Regions from separate parts of the Homo sapiens genome. Here region 1 is linked to region 2. The links are contacts of gene promoters, found by promoter capture Hi-C in blood cells and fetal thymus (Javierre and others, 2016). All regions are on one chromosome and are shown on one strand. The core of a region is centred on a gene start or on the middle of the fragment in contact, and the rest is flanking DNA. Distances in the headings are between cores, read along the strand shown. Region 1 overlaps LETM2 (leucine zipper and EF-hand containing transmembrane protein 2). Region 2 holds the start of EIF4EBP1 (eukaryotic translation initiation factor 4E binding protein 1).

Region 1 (3,859 bases), core at 1,200-3,699, 380 kb after region 2:
CAACTTCAGGAAACACCATCTTGCTTTCCCTTTTCATATTTCTAGAGTAATCTGGTTTTGGGATTTGTCCAGGAAAAACTCTAGGGAGACTAGGAGCAGTTTCAGAGTATAGACCATGTTCTAAAAGGCAGGCTAGTGGGTTCTTATTCTATCCAACTCTTGGATCCACTCATGTGAGACAGACCAAAGTTAATCGTCATTCTTAGATTGCTGTCAGGGGCAAGGAAATCTTGGAGGAGCTCACTGTCTCAGCTAAATCTGGGTTCTCAGAATTATTCTAGAGGGCCATAAGCTCTTTATCCAGATGTTGCTTTCTGGAGTGGGTGAGAACGGAATTAAGGACAAAATGATAAGCTCCTAAGCAAGTTATTGGCTTTTTCCCACCCATGTTTTTAAACTTCTATTCTCCATGTATATATACAAAATGAGAACAAGTAGCATGCTAGGTTCTGTGAAGAATAGAGACATCAAATATACTGTAATTTTGGATGTATGTAGCCTTATCCCTCCAAAGTCCACAAATTACTTCCAAAGCACAGTGATATATGTTTTTCAAATCTAATTCCTAAAGATAGGTTAGCTAGCTATTCTATCACCACTCCCATTCTTATCGTTATCTATTTTAATACCACTCCTCTCCCCATCTTCCTTGCGTTATAGGAGCTTACCATTTTAGTAAATCAGGCAATTTTATCATTTATTATTAGATACTAAAAATGAAAAAGATGCAACATAGACCAAGTTACATCAATGCTATTAGAAAATAACTGAGGCCAGTAGCAGTGGCTCATGCCTGTAATCCAGCACTTTGGGAGGCTGAGGTGGGTGGATCACCCGAGGTCAGGAGTTCAAGACCAGCTTGGCCAACATGGTGAAACACCGTCTCTACTAAAAATACAAAAATTAGTAGCCGGGCATGGTAGTAGACGCCTGTAATCCCAGCTACTCAGGAGGCTGAGGCAGGGAGAATTGCTTGAACCCATGAGGTGGAGGTTGCAGTGAGCCGAGATCGAGCCACTGCACTCCAGCCTTGGTGACAGAGTGAGACTCCATCTCCAAAAAAAAGAAAAAAAGAAAAACAAATAATTGAGAAATGGCTTTTGAGGCCAACAGCAGGACCAGTGCCATCAGTGGATTGCTAATGATTATTTTAAATGCTAGAATCTATCAGAGTGCAACTTTTGTATATAAAGTACTCAAAACTCAAAGAGAAATAATACTAAGTTGCTACATCAGGGGCATATTTCATAGGTTACTCATAAAGGGTGTAGCTAGAGGAGGAAGTTAGGGATTTAGTGGAAAGCAAATAGTGCTAAAAAAGGCATTGACTACTGTAAAAGTTTCTGGGTTTTAGGAAGAGCAGAAAGCTTATGATACATAAAATGTTTATCTCCCCAGGCTCCAAAGACTGATATTCTTGTGGAATTACCTACTTTCACTGAATCTAAAGAGAACATGGTGGATCTTGCACCTCAACTGAAGGGAACTAAGGTTAGACAGTTACTTTCCATTTGGTTAATTAGATTAAAAAATGAAAATAGCAATGGGTCATTTTCTCCTGTTTTAATCCCCTTAATGAAATTGAAATTCAATACAATAATGTTCCTTAATAAGGAATATTTATTGTACTGTTTGATCTAAGAGGAAGCTTAATATTTGGCTACACGTAATTAGGTTCCAGATTTTGCCTTTTGAATCCTGTGCCAGGATATGAGGTAGTTGTGACAAGTTCCTGGTAGTCAAGGTAGTGGACTGTAGATTAATACACATTTTCTTTTAAATCAGTAACCCAACTCTCAGTTCTGATGTTTAAGGATGAAGACTTTATACAGCCGCCACCAGTTACATCATCACCCATAACACCATCAACACCTATTTCATTACCTAAAGGACCCATCACTTCTTCTGAAGAACCTGTAAGTATCTTTAATAAATGAAAAAGAAAGAGAAGACCCTTTCCCTCTAGTTATCTTTAAGGGCAGTGAGAATCTAGAATTAGTCCTGTTGCAAAACACTGCACAATTCTTCCTGTTGTCCAAACAGGAAATTGTAGGCCAAACTTTAGTCATCTTGTAACCACGTTTTTTACTTCAACTATCCAAAAAAAAAAATTGTGGGTCAGACTAAAACATGCAAAGTGTAGAAGTCAGTTACAATATAGGCAGACCCTTTTTTTCTTATGTGCCAGGTGGAAATAGTTTCCATGTGTTATTTTACACATGCTTCCGACGTGAGGAAATACTAGCTGGAAAGCAACTTTAATTTCCAGAGAAATGCATGTAAATAAGAAACTACTTATCTATCATCCAGTTTTCCCAATTGGGTGAAGGGATTTGGGGCAAGAGCACAGGGCATGAAGAGAGTAAACAGTGGGGAGGTTGTGGGAGAGTTGAAGTGGGAAGTGGCTCCTGTGGACCAAAGACATGGCTGGCAGGACAGAGAATCTATGAAGACACAGATGGGGTAAGCCCAGAAAAGCATCCCAAGGCACACACATACCTTGTTTTTTGTAAATCTCCTTTATCTTTTATTACCAAGGTAAATTATAATCTCAGATTTGACTTTGTGGTCACTATTTTGATTAAGAAAACAAAAATAGCATTCACTCCTTAAGAACTTACACGTCTGTGACTAATGCCTACAGTCCTTGTTTTTTACGCCTAGACACTCCAGGCCAAATCACAAATGACGGCCCAGAACAGCAAGGCTAGTTCAAAAGGAGCATAAAGGACTACTTGAGGATGGAGCTCACTCTCTTCAGCTTCCGGCCCTCAACAGTGGCATCTGTAAAGGACCTCCCAGATAAGACTGTCTGGCTTCAGAGAGCGGATCAGCTGTTTAGCCCGTGGGGCAGTCCTTTGAGGCCTGGTAACCATTCCAGGTGATGTGGGTAGTGAGACCAAGTTCAGACCACTTAGAAAAATATAATTGCAAAGTCCCATTTCCTCTGTACCATTGTCACCCCACTCAACTTTGTATAAAGCCCACCCCCCATCATGTTGTTTTTTTAGTTTCATGTGTACGTCCCTTCAGAGAGGAAATTTTTTGCACAATGGAATCAGCTTGGCACCTTAGATACCTGTCTCCTATGGCTTGGAATTCTGAGTAAGAACTTGGAAGTTCCAAAAACCATTTTAGGAGCACCTGATTAACTTTCTGAATGATCCACCAGTAGGATCAGCACCCTGGAAACAAAGTACCTTATGAGATGGGATGGATATACTCCCCAGTAAGATCTTTCTGGATATAATGAAGCTTCCTGGAGAAACAGACTGGCAATCAGAAAGATTTGGCTGCTTCCGACACCTCCATCTTGGGCCTGCAGAGGCTGCAGCAATCTGTGAGGCAGCCGCAATCTGCGAGGCAGCCACTCTTCTAGCACATATGGCTTTCATTAGCCACCATTTTGCTAGGAAGCATAATTAAGGGTTTAAGCCTTAACCATGTTTGTGTTGGGTGTGTGTGTTTCTGGCCAGTTTGTCTTTCACAAATAAGACTATTAGTCATAGGGATTGTGAAAGTCTGATATAATCCCTGTGCTACCCAGCAACAAGTATTACATTAGGATATTTATGCTTGGTGTTTTCAGTATTAATAATATGAAATAATAGATAGACTGCCATGCAGCTGACCAAGGGCTTTCTTCCCCTGGGGAGTGGTTAGAAGGCCAAAGGTATTTCAGCCTGTAGGTGATAAAATTAGATTTCTTTACTTGCTGTGGTTAGACAGCAGTCAGTTAAAACAAGTAAAACTCCACTGTCCTGTCTGGGATCACCTAAATGAGGAATGTCACCAGCACTTCACAGCAAGAATATGCATTCTACAATGCTTTCTAAATTTGTGCTCCATCAGAGAAGCC
Region 2 (3,943 bases), core at 1,108-3,607:
AGTAGCTGGGACCACAGGTGTGAGCCACAACACTGGGCTAATTTTTAAATTTTTTTGTAGAGACAGAGTTTCACCATGTTGCCCAGGCTTGTCTCAAACTCCTGAGCCCAAGCAGTCTGCTCACCTCGGTCTCCAAATGTGCTGGTATTACAGGTGTGATCCACAGCACCTGGATGAAATTAATTTTTTTTTTTTTTTTTTTTTGAGACGGAGTCTCACTCTGTCACCCAGGCTGGAGTGCAGTGGCAGATCTCTACTCACTACAACCTCTGCCTCCCAGGTTCAAGCAATTCTCCACCTCAGCCTCCCGAGTAGCTGGGATTACAGGCACCCGCCACTGTGCCCGGTCTGTTGTTTTTGTTTGTTTGTTTGTTTGTTTTGTTTTTTTGTATTTTTAGTAGAGACAGGGTTTCACCATCTTGGCCAGGCTGGTCTTGAACTCCTGACCTCATGATCCACCCGCCTAGGCCTCCCAAAGTGGTGGGATTACAGGCGTGAGCCACTGCACCCAGCCGAAATTTATTTTTTTTTCTTTTGAGACAGAGTCTTGCTCTGACGCCAGGCTGGAGTGCAGTGGCATGATTTCAGCTCACTGCAACCTCTGCCTCCCAGGTTCAAGCAATTCTCCTGCCTCAGCCTCCCGAGTAGCTGGGACTACAGGCATGCGCCACCATGCCCAGCTAATTTTTTTTATATTTTTAGTAGAGACAGGGTTTCACCATGTTGTCCAGGATGGTCTCGATCTCTTGACCTCATGATCCGCCTGCCTCGGCCTCCCAACGTGTTGGGATTACAGGCGTGAGCCACTGCGCCTGGCCCAAAATTAATTTTTATAATGTATTTTTCTTAACCCAGTATACTCAAAATATTATCAGTTCAACATACAATCAATATAGAAACAAATTATTCAGGTATTTTACATGATTTTCTTCACACTAAGTCTTTGAAATATGGTGTGTATGTTAAACTTGTGACAGTTTGGACTGGTCACATTTGGAGTGCTCAATGTGCACCTGTAGCTGGTGGCTACTGTCTTAGCCACTGTAGGCCTAAAGTTTCCCTCAAAAGTGAGACCAAACTCAACAGGTCTCCCTATCTCAGGCCTTGCCCTCCTTGGCCCATTCTGAAACTCCACTGGCTACTAGTTATCCTTCCAAAAAACAACTCAAATCATGTCATCCCCCTGCTTAAAAGATCTCTGATATCTCCTGCCCTTCTAAGACAAAGTCCAAGCACTTTGGCATAATTTGAAAAACTCAACGACCTGACCCCAATTTCCTTTTTAAAAAATTATTATATATTTTTTTAGAGATAGGGTCTCTGTCACAAAGGGTGGAGTGCAGTGGTGTGATCACAGCTCACTGGAGCCTCAAACCCCTGGGCTCAAGCATCCTCCAGCCTCAGCTTCCTGAGTAGCTGGGATTACAGGTGCACCACCCAATTTCCCTTTTAAACTGCCCTCCCCTCTTCACCCTCTTCCCCACAATATGTGCCCATAATGCTAAGAACTTCTCAAACCCAACAAGCTTTTCCATCCTCGGTCCTTCTTGCATTTTTCTCTCTCCCCTTGAACATCCATCCATCCATCCATCCATCCATCCATCCATCCATCCATCCAAGGAGTACCTACTAAACCTCAGGTGGACGTTGGACTCAATTCAGGGGCTATCGGGAAACCTCTTCGACACTCTTACTCCTCTCCAACGCCCTTCCCCACCACCCACCTCTGCGCCCCCAGCTCTAAATTTAGCTCCCAGGACGCCGCTGGTTGGTTCACTCCTCCTCCCACACCCTCTCTAAAGGCCGGGAACGGAATTGTTAGCCCCTCCACCCCCACCCCCATCAAGGTCAAGAAATTGAAGCGGGGCGGGGGGCGGTGAGCATAACTACTCAATCCCCATTTTCTCATCTGAGGAACTAAGGCACGAAACAGGGAGTGCCGAAGGGTACACCAGGCCTGATGTCCTAATGCAGAAACCGGGCCTTCCTGCAGTGGGCCGGGTCAGCTCGGATCTCCGCGCGGTCCTGAGTCGCCGCCCCCAACCCAGCCAAGGATTAATTTAGGCGAGCTATCCCGCCCGCCATCCCCATATCCGTCCCTGCCAGCGTGGCGGGGAGGGACCCCGGACGGAGGGGCAGTCGCTGCGGGGCGGCGCCAGCGCCCGTGCGGAAGAGCCCGTGAGCAGACGGGAGTGGGTCGGGGGGCGGCGGGGGATCCCACGTGGAAGCAGCGTCCTGGAGCTGGGTGGGGCTGCGGCGCGGACTACAAATCCCAGGGGCGTGGGGCGGGAGAGGCGGAAGGGGCGTCCTGGGGCGGGGCGGCACGGGGCGAGGCGGAGCGAGGCTGGAGGCGCGGGAGGGCAGCGAGAGGTTCGCGGGTGCAGCGCACAGGAGACCATGTCCGGGGGCAGCAGCTGCAGCCAGACCCCAAGCCGGGCCATCCCCGCCACTCGCCGGGTGGTGCTCGGCGACGGCGTGCAGCTCCCGCCCGGGGACTACAGCACGACCCCCGGCGGCACGCTCTTCAGCACCACCCCGGGAGGTAGGCGCGGGCTTGGCGACGCCGCTTGCCGGCTCCTGGGCGGGCGGGAGGATCGGGAATCGCGGATTGGACCGGGTGTCCAGGCTCAAGGGCGCCGTGATTGGAAAGAACGGAAAAGGGGCATCGGAGAGACAGCGAGGGTCATGGAAGTGGCCGCCCGCTTCCCCTCTGAGTGCGTCTTCCAGACCCGAGTTACAAACTGCCCCGTTTGTTTCCTCTTTCTGTTAGGTGTCAGACAGCTGACACCTAACAAACACGCACGCCTCCAGGACAGCCACATGCCGAGCTGTGCTGCCCCTTGTGGGTGTTGGGGGCGCTCCCGAAGCGGGAGAGGGCGGAGTTAGGGTGGCCCACGATCCAGGAGAGGCCTGGCCTGGTGTTTTTATGGGATGGGTATTATCTGTTGGGATAAACGATTCCTGCAGGGCCCTTTTTCCTTCCCGAAGCACGCCGAGTTTTGTGTTGGACTCGCGCGCTCTGACTGAGGTTCGGATCTGGGGGTGCTTGCCTGCTCCAGCAGCGCCTCCCGGGCACCTGTGGCACGTTCCCCATTTACGCGAGTGGGATCTCCGCGGGGGGGACCCTGGCGCCACGGCCAGGGCTGTGCAGAAAAACACGTTCTTCTGTCCGGGGAGAGGAGGAGGCACCGTGTGACCTCCCTGGGAGAGGATGAGGAAGAGGAAGCTGAGCTGGCACGGGTGGGGGGGCCAGCCTCGGGCTGCCCTCAGGAACCTGGCATTCCCTCCCAGCCCCGGAGCCCCAGCGCACAGACGCTGATGAAACCTACGCGCCTGTTTGCATGATGAAATAAATCCTCGTGGCTCTCTCCTCCCCTCTCATTGTCGCACTGCCCCCACCCCTTTTTGCTCCTCTCCCTTCATTCTCCTCCACGCTGCTTTCCATACTACTAGAAAACGCGACAGATCCTGGCGCTTGGCTAGGTGGCGGGCGGGGGCCACATGCTTATTTTCTCAGGCAGCTGTCCCACCAGCAGCGAGCGCGGCCAGATCCGAGGTCCTCTGCTGTTTGATCCAAAACATACACTGTTAGAACGGTTAGGGATCTTGTCCAGCCCTGCCGTCTTATTCTACAGAGCCCGGCATTGAGGCCCCAGAGCTTGAACACGTGTCTGTTGCCCATTGTCACACCGTTTTCCCAGATTGGACAAGAAATAGCAACCAGGCAGAGAAGGGAGAAATGCTTCCTTTTCTATTAGAAATGAGCCAAGGAAAAGCTCGCAGGGGCTCTTGTTGCCATTCCCGACTCATCCTCTTTCCCTTGCTGGGTCTTTTGTAGTCCATGCTGTTCTCCTTTGTCTCTGTCACAATGGTCTACCAGGACAATTCCTGACAATTTTGGAGTTCTTTCAAATGAGGGTGTAAGTGTCTGCTGGATTTGTTC

The links. Contacts are between HindIII fragments. The CHiCAGO score rates a contact against its expected background, and 5 or more counts as called.
Region 1: a fragment that was not itself captured here is called in contact with the fragment with the promoter of EIF4EBP1 in region 2 in 2 of 17 cell types (erythroblasts and total B cells); the score reaches 5.8 in erythroblasts.

What each region holds. Positions count from the first base shown.
Region 1 is chr8:38,405,548-38,409,406 of GRCh38, forward strand. LETM2 (leucine zipper and EF-hand containing transmembrane protein 2) reads left to right here. Exons shown (of 11, transcript NM_001286819.2): 9 at 1,399-1,491; 10 at 1,815-1,916; 11 at 2,665-3,859. The coding sequence ends at 2,727. The region is part of intron 1 of LOC102723716 (a long non-coding RNA gene); the gene reads right to left. Among named protein-coding and RNA genes, the nearest start is that of LETM2, 21 kb to the left of the region's middle. RefSeq lists an enhancer at 1-267. The HindIII fragment of the contact is 1,607 bases long and covers 1,647-3,253 here.
Region 2 is chr8:38,028,177-38,032,119 of GRCh38, forward strand. EIF4EBP1 (eukaryotic translation initiation factor 4E binding protein 1) reads left to right here and starts at 2,358. Exons shown (of 3, transcript NM_004095.4): 1 at 2,358-2,542. The coding sequence starts at 2,398. RefSeq lists a silencer at 2,139-2,578 and enhancers at 2,155-2,449, 3,079-3,178. The HindIII fragment of the contact is 5,036 bases long and covers 1,525-3,943 here.